Linked DNA regions of Homo sapiens: region 1 is linked to region 2. Evidence: promoter capture Hi-C in 16 types of primary human blood cells and fetal thymus (Javierre and others, 2016). All regions are on one chromosome and are shown on one strand. Each heading gives the region's core, a stretch centred on a gene start or on the middle of the fragment in contact. The rest is flanking DNA. Distances are from core to core; before and after follow the strand shown. Region 1 has its middle 23 kb from the start of TCHHL1. Region 2 holds the start of FLG2 (filaggrin 2).

Region 1 (5,302 bases), core at 1,510-4,009, 290 kb before region 2:
CCTTAGGGGACATTTAAGAGGTCTGTTTTCTAGTTCTATTTATAGCTATTTCACTGCATATTATTTTCTATGGCAGTATTATGTATATTTTTATATTTTGAGATCACAGTAACTGAAATGTATATTCCTAGTATTAATAAAATATAGCATTATTTTATTACATATTTATTAACCACTAACACACCCTGTTTTCCCCCAACTCTCAATGATGACTCTGCTTTATAATGAAATCCAAGTCACCAAACTGGAACTCTCTCATTTATCCAAGCAAAGGAACAAACTTTCTTTAATGTGTACTCTTTCCTGAGACAGTAGAGGAAGTTTTTCTCTTTCTATCCAAAGCAAATCCATCTGTTTGTGCCCTCGAGTTCATGCCCTTTACTTTATAAAAGACTGAGTTACTTCTGATAATTTCTCTTTCTCTTGACTTTTTGATGCTTTAGTCTCTACTGGATCATTCCAGACAGAGAAACAGTATGCTTTATTAGCTATCATACTTTAAAAAATTTCCTGTGGTCTGGGCACAGTGGTTCATGCCTGTAATCCTAGCACTTTGGGAGGCTGTGGAGGCAGGTGGATCACCTGAGGTCAGGAGTTCAAGACCAGCCTGGCCAACATGGTGAAACCTCATATCTCCTAAAAATTAAAAAATTAGCCAGGCGTGGTGGCAGGTGCCTGTAATCCCAGCTACTCAGCAGGCTGATGCAGGAGAATCTCTTGAACCCGGGAGGCAGAAGTTGCAGTGAACGGAGATCATGCCACTACACTCCAGCCTGGGTGACAGAGCAAGACTCCATCTCAAAAAAAAAAAAAAAAAAAAAGTCCTGTGCACCACATTCTCACATCTCACATCTCTTTCTTTCTACCAGCCAATATCTCTTCTCACCATTTATTGCCAAGCTTCTTGAAAGAGTTATCTGTAAATGTCTCCGCTTCCTTACTCTTCATTCTCCCTTAATATGTGTCATTTTGGCATCCATATTCACCACCACACCAAGTGGTTTCCTTGGTACCAAATACAGTGGACACAATCTTTTCTTTACTGGACCTCAGTTGACACAACTGACTAATCCTTCCTTTCGAAACATTTTCTTATCTTGTATTTCATGACATCCCACTCTCCTGGTTTTCATTCTATATCTTTGGCCCCATGTTTTCATTTTCTATCCTCGTTTCACCTTTTCTACTTAGCCTCTAAATGTTGGAGTTACTCAGGATTTAGTATAGGACACTCTTCCTATCCTATGTTTTTACATTCTCATCTATTCCCGTAGCTTCATACCATCAATTAGCTGATGATAATCAGATTTTTGTCTTTGTGCAAGCCAGATCTCTCTTCTGAGTTCCAGACATGTATGTCTAACTGCTTTGGTGACATCTTTTCTGTGATATATCACAGGTAGAAGAAATTCAACATGTCCAACTCTTGATTTTCTTCTTATGTCTATTTCTCATCAAGTCCACTCCATCTCAGTAAATGGCACCACCGTCCTTCCAGTTTCTCAAGCCAGAAGCATGGTAGCTGTATTTGATTCTTTCCTCTCATTTACCCCTACAGTCCAGTCCATAATAAAGCCTTTTGTTTCTATCTCCAAAATGTACTGTCAATCCATCCACTTCTTTCCTTCTCCATTGTTTGGACTTCCTCAATCCAAGCTACCATCATCTTTTGCCAATACTGTTGCAGTAGCCCTTTTTTTTTTTTTTTTTTTGAGTCAGGGTCTTACTCTGTCACCCAGACTGGAGTGCAGTGGCATGATCATAGCTCACTATAGCCTCAAACTCCTGGGCTCAAGCGATCCTTCTGCCCCAACTTCCCAAGTAGCTGGAATTACAGGTGCAAGCCACCATGCCTGGCTCTGCAGTAGTGTGTAGTGTTCTAAGTGGTTTCTTTGCTTCTTCTTTTGCCCATCCAAACAGCAAGTGAATTTAAAAATTTGCCCATCCAAACACCAAGTGAATTTAAAAATTTGTGATTTAGATTTAATTATTCCTCTGCTCAGAACTCTTTAATGCCTTCCTATTACATATATAAATTACTTAACATGGTTGAAAAAGCTCCGCATGATTTAGTCCCTGCCTGGCTCTCCACTTTCATCTCCTGCCATTCTTTCTGCCCAGCCACACCGAACTTCCAGTTCCTTGAGCACAAAAGCTATTTCCTTACTCAAGGACTTTATTAGTACTCCTTTTTTTTTTTTTCCTGGAACACTTCCTATTCTTCATCTAGTCAACTCCTACACGTCCTTCAAGTCTTGACTTAAATGTAATTTCCTTAAAGAATCTCCTCTGACTTCCTAGCAGAACATAACTCTTATTATTGGTTTTGTTTGTTTTTTTTGTTTTTATTTTTTTCAGATGGAGTCTCGCTCTGTTGCCCAGGCTGCAATGCAGTGACGTGATCTTGCTCACTGCAACCTCCATCTCCCGGGTTCAAGTGATTCTCCTACGTTGGCCTCCAGAGTAACTGGGACTATAGGTACGTGTCACCACTCCTGGCTGGTTTTTTTTTTTTTTTTTTTTGAGATGGAGTCTCGCTCTGTCACCCAGGCTGGAGTGCAGTGGCATGATCTCGGCTCACTGCAAGCTCCGCCTCCTGGGTTCATGCCATTCTCCTGCCTCAGCCTCCCGAGTAGCTGGGACTACAGGCGTCCACCACCATGCCTCGCTAAGATTTTTGTATTTTTAGTAGAGATGGGGTTTCACCATGTTGGCCAGGCTGGTCTCCAAATCCTGACCTCAAGTGATCCACCCGCTTTGGCCTCCCAAAGTGCTAGGATTACAGGCATGAGCCACCATGCCTGGCCATATTGTTTTTAACTATATATTGTTATGTTTACTTGGTTTATTGTCTATAAGTTTTTTGAAGGCAGGAACCATGTCTATTTTGCTGGCTACTCTTCCCAGAGCCTACAAAGTTACCTGGAACATATGTGATGCTAAGTAAATATCAGTTGCATAAATGAATTAATAGATATATGACAGGAATGATCCCAGGCTAGAGAAACAAATAAAAGCACAAAAGGACATGGTCTCTGCCTTCATAGACAAGTAAACAGGTAATTATAACACACTGTAATAAGTGCCACAGGGGTGAAATGGGAGCCTATATGACAAATAGCTAAATAGGGTCACTTTGGCTGCATGTAGGTAATAGATGGTGGATAGTATTGATAGGGAGGGACAAGAATAGAGGGGAAGAGACCAATTAGGAGGTTATTGCAACAATTCAAGTCAGAGATACTGGTGGCCTAGAACACTTCAGGGGCAGTGGTTGAGGAGAGAAGTGGCCAGGTCTGAGAGATATTTATTTAGAAGTCAGAATCAGGAGGGCTTGGTGATGAGATTAGATGTGAGAAGTAAAATAGATGGAGGTGTCAAGGCTAGCACCCAAGTTATTGACTTGGACAAATGAATGGCTAGTGCTGCTGTATTTGTTTGAATATAGGATGTAAAAGGAAGATGAGGTTTGTACAGGTTGAATTTGAAATGCTTGTGCCATATCTGATGGAGATGCTCCATGGGTCTGAAGCTCAGGAAAGTGATCTGGTTGATAAGTTGACTGAAAGTTTCAGCATACAGAGAGTGGTTTCAGCATACAGTGGTTGAGGCAAGCAGAGTCTATGAAATCCCCAGGAGACATGCATAAAGTGAGAAGAGAATTCCAGAGCATATCAACCCTTAAGTGATGAGCAGAGGAAGAGGAACTTGAAATGACTCTGAGAGGAAACAGCTGGAGACATAAGAGGAAACCTAGGAGAGGGTAGTGTCACTGGAGCCAAGAAGACAGTTCCAAGTAACACAGTAAATGTGCAAGGAGTGAGCCCCTGTCCTTCTTACCTCCAAGGCCATTCCAAACTCTTGTCTGAGAAGTGTCTTGAGTTTTGTCTTGTTCAGCCTCTGCCAGTCTCCATCACTCTGCGTGCTTGTGGAAAATGTCGATGATACTGATGCTGCTCCTCAGAAGATAGGGAAGCATCTTGTTTTGCCAACTGGAGTGCACCTGGAATGCACCAAGGAATACCCAACTTGTTTAATTTTTCTGAATCTCTATCATCCCTTCTTTCTTCATCTCTTGGAGGTAAATTACAGTGTAAAGATCCGGCTTATTTGATTGTTTATCTGACTCCTTTAGAGATTTTTCTTTGAGGGCCAGGACCATGTCTTATCTATTTTTTATTTATCCTAGTGCCTCAAATATAGTAGAAGTTCAATAAATGCCTGATGAATGGGTGCAGAAACAAATGAGTGAACCCTGATTTGAGTGATATGTTGGAATAGGTCTGTGGTTCCCAAACTTTGCTGTACTATAGAGTCACCAGGAGGAGCTTTAAAGAAATAAAGACTCCAGGCCCCACCTCCAGAGAGAGTGGCTCAATAGCTCTGGGGTAGAGTCCTAGACTCTGCATTTAAAAAGCTCCCCACTGATTCCTTTGCAGCCGCAAGAACTACTGGCCACCTGACCTCTGAGATCCTTTGCAGCTAGAAAGTTTTGCAATGGCAATAATAATGAATTAACTGACTTAGCAAGCATTTCTTAATTTCCTTTGTGCCAATGCTGTGTTGTGTTCTGGGAATGGGAGATGAATAAGAAATAGCTCCTTTCCTCAAGGAATTCAAAGCTTGGAGGAGGAGATGCAGTTATCTCAGTACAGTCTGATAATTTACACGTAGCGGTGGCTGGGGACTAAGACAGGAGCTCTTCTTAGATGATGCCATTCTTGAAGATTATAGAGCAGTACTTTTAAAACATGGGCAAAGTCCACTAGGGTATTGCTCCTGTCATTCTAATTACAACTTGTCAGTGTTAGAACTTTCATAGAATTTTCCAGAAAGCCAAAGCTATATCTGCGCAGTCTAATTGTCTATGTAAGAATACTAAGGAAGGAAAACATTTACAAAAACAGAAATATAATTTTTTTAAAGAACTTACTTAAATTGCCAAGAGAAATGGAGGACTCAGGCCTGAGAGCTCATGGAATAATGGGCTTGGGGATCCTGGTGCTTATATAGGGGTTTTAATTACACCCTTTAACCTGACATCTTTTGCAGACAACACCCTTGGTGTATAATGGACTGAATCATTGCCAACCAAACCCCATTCCACCTGTTTCTCCTCTAAGCGGGGCTTTTAAACTCAGCATTTCCTTGAATGCCACCCCTATTTTGCATTTGTTCTGTGTCTGCAGCCTGGCTCCTGAGGGACAGCTACTTCTCACATCCCTGTGGGGCCATAGTGCCACCAGGATGTCTTGACAGTGTGCTGAAGTACTCTCAAGAAAAACCTTGTGAACCAATAGTG
Region 2 (5,483 bases), core at 534-3,033:
GTATTAGCCAGGATGGTCTTGATCTCCTTACCTTGTGATTCACCCACTTCGGCCTCCCAAAGTGCTGGGATTACAGGCATGAGCCACCGCGCCTAGCTGAGTCCTTTTTAAGTAGATGGAATAAAATGCTGGCATTTTATTTTTGATTCTTAATCATGGCTATTTTGTCAACTCCCTATGTAGATGATTTCCCTTTCTATACTTTTTTTTCCATTTGATAGGATAATTTATTAATTCGTGTCCTAGTATAATTTTATTTTCTGCTTTTTCTAAGGAAAAGCCTGGGTGTATGAGAAAGTCTGAGAGTCTATGAGGTAGGAGTGCATAGGTGGAAAAGTGAGGACGAAACATTCACTTTCTTTAAAATATCTGCTGCTTTAACAGACTTTCTGGCATCCCCAAAATACCACTCATAGAGTTTGCTTAGAGTTCACTGGGGCTGTGCACTTTTTAGCTGATCTGGGTCATACAACAGAGCTTGTACAGGACTCCAGCAGCCTTCAGTTCTGGCACATGGCTCTCACCTTCAGAACTGGATGAAGCTCTTTCTCCAGAAGTTCCTTTAGTTCACCCTTGCTCAGTGTGCCACACTCCCCATCTTGCTTGGTGTATTTGTAGAAAACATCAATTACGGTGACAACACTTCTCAAGAGGTCGGTCATCTTTTTGCAAGTTTAAGTGAACCTGGACACAGAAAAACAAAGAACCCTATTATTCATATTCTCTCCTTTTATCAGCAATTTTCATTTTAATAATAACCAGCATGATTTTTTTAACCTCTTGTTTTTTAAATCTCAAAACGTAAGAATGGGCCAGGGATGATACAACCCCGTTTAACACAATGAAAATTAACTTTGTTAACTTTGAGTTACTTTTCTGTGATCAAGTCTTGGCATGTTACTGGTTCAACTGAGAATAGACCTCAAGTCTCTATATTTCCTGTCATGGGTAAGTATAGTCTCTACATAGTATCTCTACACTTTGAGTGTGTTGGCATTCTGGGTGTTGTTCTAAGGCTTCCAAAATTTCCAGAACCAGCCAGACACCATTGCCTCAATCTCTCTTTCTAGTTTCACTGCTTTTCTTGAGTCAAAAGTGACAGACCTTCCACCATGCACATCTGTTTATCCTCTGGGCACCAGAAGCTAAACTGGACCCTTAAGGCCTTCAGCAAATTAAAAATGGGCAAAGGGGCTCAAAATAGCTTGGTGTTTCATAGGCATGAGACAGTAGAACTCAGTAGAGCTTAGGAACTCTCTTAATGTCAAGCACTTGACCAAACACTGTTTTCTTTAATTAATCAAGAAGAAGAGCTCAGCAATGCAGGCAGCAGTTTAACTAGTGGATAATTAGATCTTGGAGCTCTGGGAACCAACACTGAATAAGGAAGGGACTCTGCAACAGACCCAGCTGCCTCCCAGTTTGAGCTGGACAGCCCAGAAAAGAGGGCATGGAAAAAGACTCGGAACAGACTGTGGAATGGCCTAGAGGAAGGTGAACTTTTACTTGCATTATTCTTCTCCATAAAAATGAACTTAACTACAAAAAGGCCCCAGAATAAACTAAACTAACCAAACAAATAAGCAAACAAAAAGAAAAGAAAATGAAAGAAAGAAACAAAAAAGAAAAGAAAGGCAAAATATACATGAACTCTGCCTTAGCTTATATCCCTAGACTTCTACTATGGACAACACCAAATATTCATAAATGTAGCTGGATGAATTTTCTCTCACCTGGTTCACCAAAGGAACAAGTAGGATAAAGCCTGATGCAGCTTGCAGGGTGACGATGGATTGGGATAATGACCCTTATATAGCTTATAGTGATTATAGTGAATGAGGTGATTCATTTTCCATCAAACCTAACTCCACCTCTACATATTTACCTTCCTCCTTCACATTGTTATCTACAGATGATTGCAGAAAGGCTAGTACCAGCCCCACCTTCCAGTACGAGGACATGGTTGCAAGATACCTTTTTTTTCAGGGTCATATACATGTGAAAAGCACAGACTTTGTTTTAGAGGACTCATGTTATACATTTCTTTTAACTAGTACCCACAGAAAGTAGCAGAGTGTAAGATACTTGGAAGGTGCACAATAAATGCTTATTTAATTGAAAATGAACCTGAGCCACTAGGTTCATCTAATTCATGTCTTTTTTGTAATAATAAAAAGTGACATTTATTGAGAATTTACTATGTGCTAAATACTTTAAACAAACCATCTCAATCTTTAAAAAATCTGCACTTTTAGTTATGGGTACATAGTTGTATATAATTGTTGGGTACATGTGATGTTTTGATATGGGCATACCATGTGTAATGATCAAATTACAGTAATTGGGGTATCCAGCACCTCAAGCATTTCTTTGTAGTAGGAACATTCTAATTCTACTATTTTAGTTATTTAAAAATATACAATAAATAGTTAACTATAGTTACCATATTATGTTACCAAATACTAGATCTTATCACCTCATTTAATCTTCACAACCTTCATACGAGATATGTATTTATTATCCCATTTTATAGAGACAGGTTCTGGAAGCATAAGGATCTTCTCCAAGGTCATAGCTAGTAGGCAGAGAAACCAGAAGTTGAACCTGTATCTACCTTATTGCAATTGCTGTTTACCATTATACTAACTTACCTCTGTGTATTTATCATATATAACTATCATGCAAAAATTATGCACCATTTTAGGAGTGTAAGGCCCACTCAAACGCAAATAATATAAAAAAGTAACATACAGAGTGCTGTTAGGAAGAGAGGAAACATTCTCTGACCTTGTGAAGGCTCATTTCTAGGCTAGAAAAGTGTAATTGGCTATATATAAAAATAATGTTTTCAGATATGTTCAGGGTGAATTTAGAGTGAGCTTTCTTCCAGCACTCTGCGATCCACTGGTAGTCTGGCATGTTTAGGGCCTGGACCCTTGGGAAAATGTTCACTTATGTACAGAAAGTATATCAAATACACTTGAGGGTAACAAAAATAATCAGAGAGCTGTAAGTCTTAAGCATGGAGAGCCAATTCTGCTGTACTTTGCTACCAGGTGATAATGATGATGATGAGGAGGATAGCAGCTACCATTAAGTGCTAAGTGCTTACTATCTTCTATACATGGTAGGTTTACATGCTTATCTATTTATTCCTCAAAATAACCCCATTTTATAGATAAGGTAATAAAAGCATAGAGCAATGTAAACATTTGTTACAAATCGCAGCTAGTTAGTAGCAGCACTAGAACAGATACACATGCTAGCCGATGCTAAAGCCTAGCACTTAACCATATATATTCTACATATATGGAGTCAATAAACTCCTATCTGGGCATTGCTTTGGGCCAGTCATCATATCTTATTCATTCCACCATCTAGGCAGCACCTAGAGCTTGGTAAACACTAAGAATGAGTGTCTGTTCATAAAATGTTAATGAATAGGCCCTTGAAATATGTCAATTGCTCACATAGCCAAGGAATCCTAGACCAAAACAACCACACAGAAAGTTATGGTTGCTGTTGGATACTATGGTCATTTTCAATCATATGCATCTTTTGGAAGTGCATTTTTGTTAAGATGGCTGCTGTGTCAGAAAGACTTTCAGGCCCCAGACTCCACACTGAGACAGAATTTTAAAGCATTTTTGCACTGTCACTCCAGCATTATAGTTGAGAACTCTGAAACTCCTCCATAGTTCAGAACTCCATTATTCAGTCTTTTGTATTCTTTGCATTTAGGTCTCTCTTCCTCTTCTACTTGCTTAGCATAATGGATAAAATTATAGTCAGAAAGACCTAAGTTCTAATCTCAATTTTGCCTCTTACTGCATTTCTTGTACAATTATCTAATCTTCTCAGCCTCAGTCTCCCAAATTATAGAATGGGAACAATAACACTTACCTAACAGGTGGCAATTACTTAACATATGAAATTGCTTAGTACCTGCCTGGCATATAATACATTCTTAGTACACTATATAATTACTGCAAACTTATTTTGATAAATATTTCATACAATCTATCACAGCATTTTACACAAAGAAAGTACTTGATAATGTTTGATAAAAATGAGTTAGAAGCCACTTACTAGTGGCTTTTAAAGGTAGAAATACTACACCTCTGTCAAAAGCATTGCCTAGAAGGTAAGTCATGGTTCTGAAAATAAACCACCTTTTTTGGGATATAATTCACATATCATAAATTTCAACCTTTTAATCTGTTTTGTGTTTGCCCCCAGAATACTGTGCTGGCAGTGAGCTGCACTTTTTTTCCCTAATTGGGAAATGGGTTAAAGTATACAGTTCGTTGTGTGTGTGTGTGTGTGTACAGAGTATGTGCAATTGAGTTATTGTTCTTATGATGTCTATGTCCTTAAGTGAGTTTCCTCACTTCTTAATGCCTTAGTTTACCCTCTGTAATAATCATAGGTGTTATTAGTATCAGGGTCCAAGTGGACAGATAGCAGGTCGTTTCAGCTGCGATTTTGGAGAACAATTATTGTCCCCATTTCACAGACACCTATGCACACTTTGGAAAGAAATCCAAGTGCTGGTTTTAAGAATTGAGTTGATACCTGCAGAAACTTTTGCCCTCCTGGGTTCTGAAAGATTATTTAGCTCAACAAAGCAGAGGCCTGAAGTCCAGAGGTAGGGCACAGTCAGTTACACCATTTCTCTGTGTCTGGGCCTCCTTCCTGCCTTGTTCTACTCATCTCATCACCTTCTGCTCATTCCATGTCTACATTGCTCAGGCTCTAGGCACTACCAGACTCTTTGATTTTAGGCCCATTTGGTGAAGCTTATGCACCGTTGGCCACTGGATTCTTGAAGAGGAAGCTATACCTTAGAATGTTAAAAGTAACTTTAATTGGACCTGTGAAAGTTCCAGATTTTGGCTTTTCCACTGCATGCCAGATAAGTTTTGTTTCTACATCTCATCCTTTTTTTAATTTTAATTTTATTTTTTTAATTTTTTATTTATTTATTTATTTATTTTGAGGCAGCATATCACTTTGTCACCCAGGCTGGAGTGCAGTGGTATGATCATGACTCAACACAGCCTCGATTTCCCAGGCTCAAGTGATCCTTCTGCCTCAGCCTCCCAAGTAGGTAGGACTATAGATACGTGCCACCATGCGTGCTAATTTTTTTTCATCCTATTTAAGGTGGTGGAGGTTCTCCAAGTTAAAATAGTCTGTTTTACTTCTTGTCATGTTCAAATTAAGAACTTGCCTTAGGGCCCAAGTGGGTCTTTGTCTATCATAAGAACCAAACATTTTCTCTATGTTGTAACTATTTGGAACTCCTATTTGGGGGGTTTTCAATGAACTCAACTTACAGCTGATACCTGAGAACTGATTCAGGGACACTGATGTGTATTAAATGTCTGTTTTCTGTAAGAGCAGTTTAGGGAGATGTTCTTGGCTTGTAGTATGATGTGGTAGAAGAAACATTGACTTTGCAGTAAGACAGATAGATTAAT

Evidence for each region. The method cuts DNA at HindIII sites, captures the fragments that hold promoters and counts their contacts. A CHiCAGO score of 5 or more calls a contact.
Region 1: a fragment that was not itself captured here is called in contact with the fragment with the promoter of FLG2 in region 2 in 4 of 17 cell types (total CD4 T cells, naive CD8 T cells, neutrophils and 1 more); the score reaches 6.2 in total CD4 T cells.

The regions. Positions count from the first base shown.
Region 1 is chr1:152,063,746-152,069,047 of GRCh38, forward strand. No RefSeq gene overlaps it. Among named protein-coding and RNA genes, the nearest start is that of TCHHL1, 23 kb to the right of the region's middle. The HindIII fragment of the contact is 3,722 bases long and covers 899-4,620 here.
Region 2 is chr1:152,358,223-152,363,705 of GRCh38, forward strand. FLG2 (filaggrin 2) reads right to left here and starts at 1,784. Exons shown (of 3, transcript NM_001014342.3): 1 at 1,734-1,784; 2 at 525-684. The coding sequence starts at 662. All of the region lies in intron 7 of CCDST (cervical cancer associated DHX9 suppressive transcript), which reads left to right. The HindIII fragment of the contact is 5,522 bases long and covers 1-4,797 here.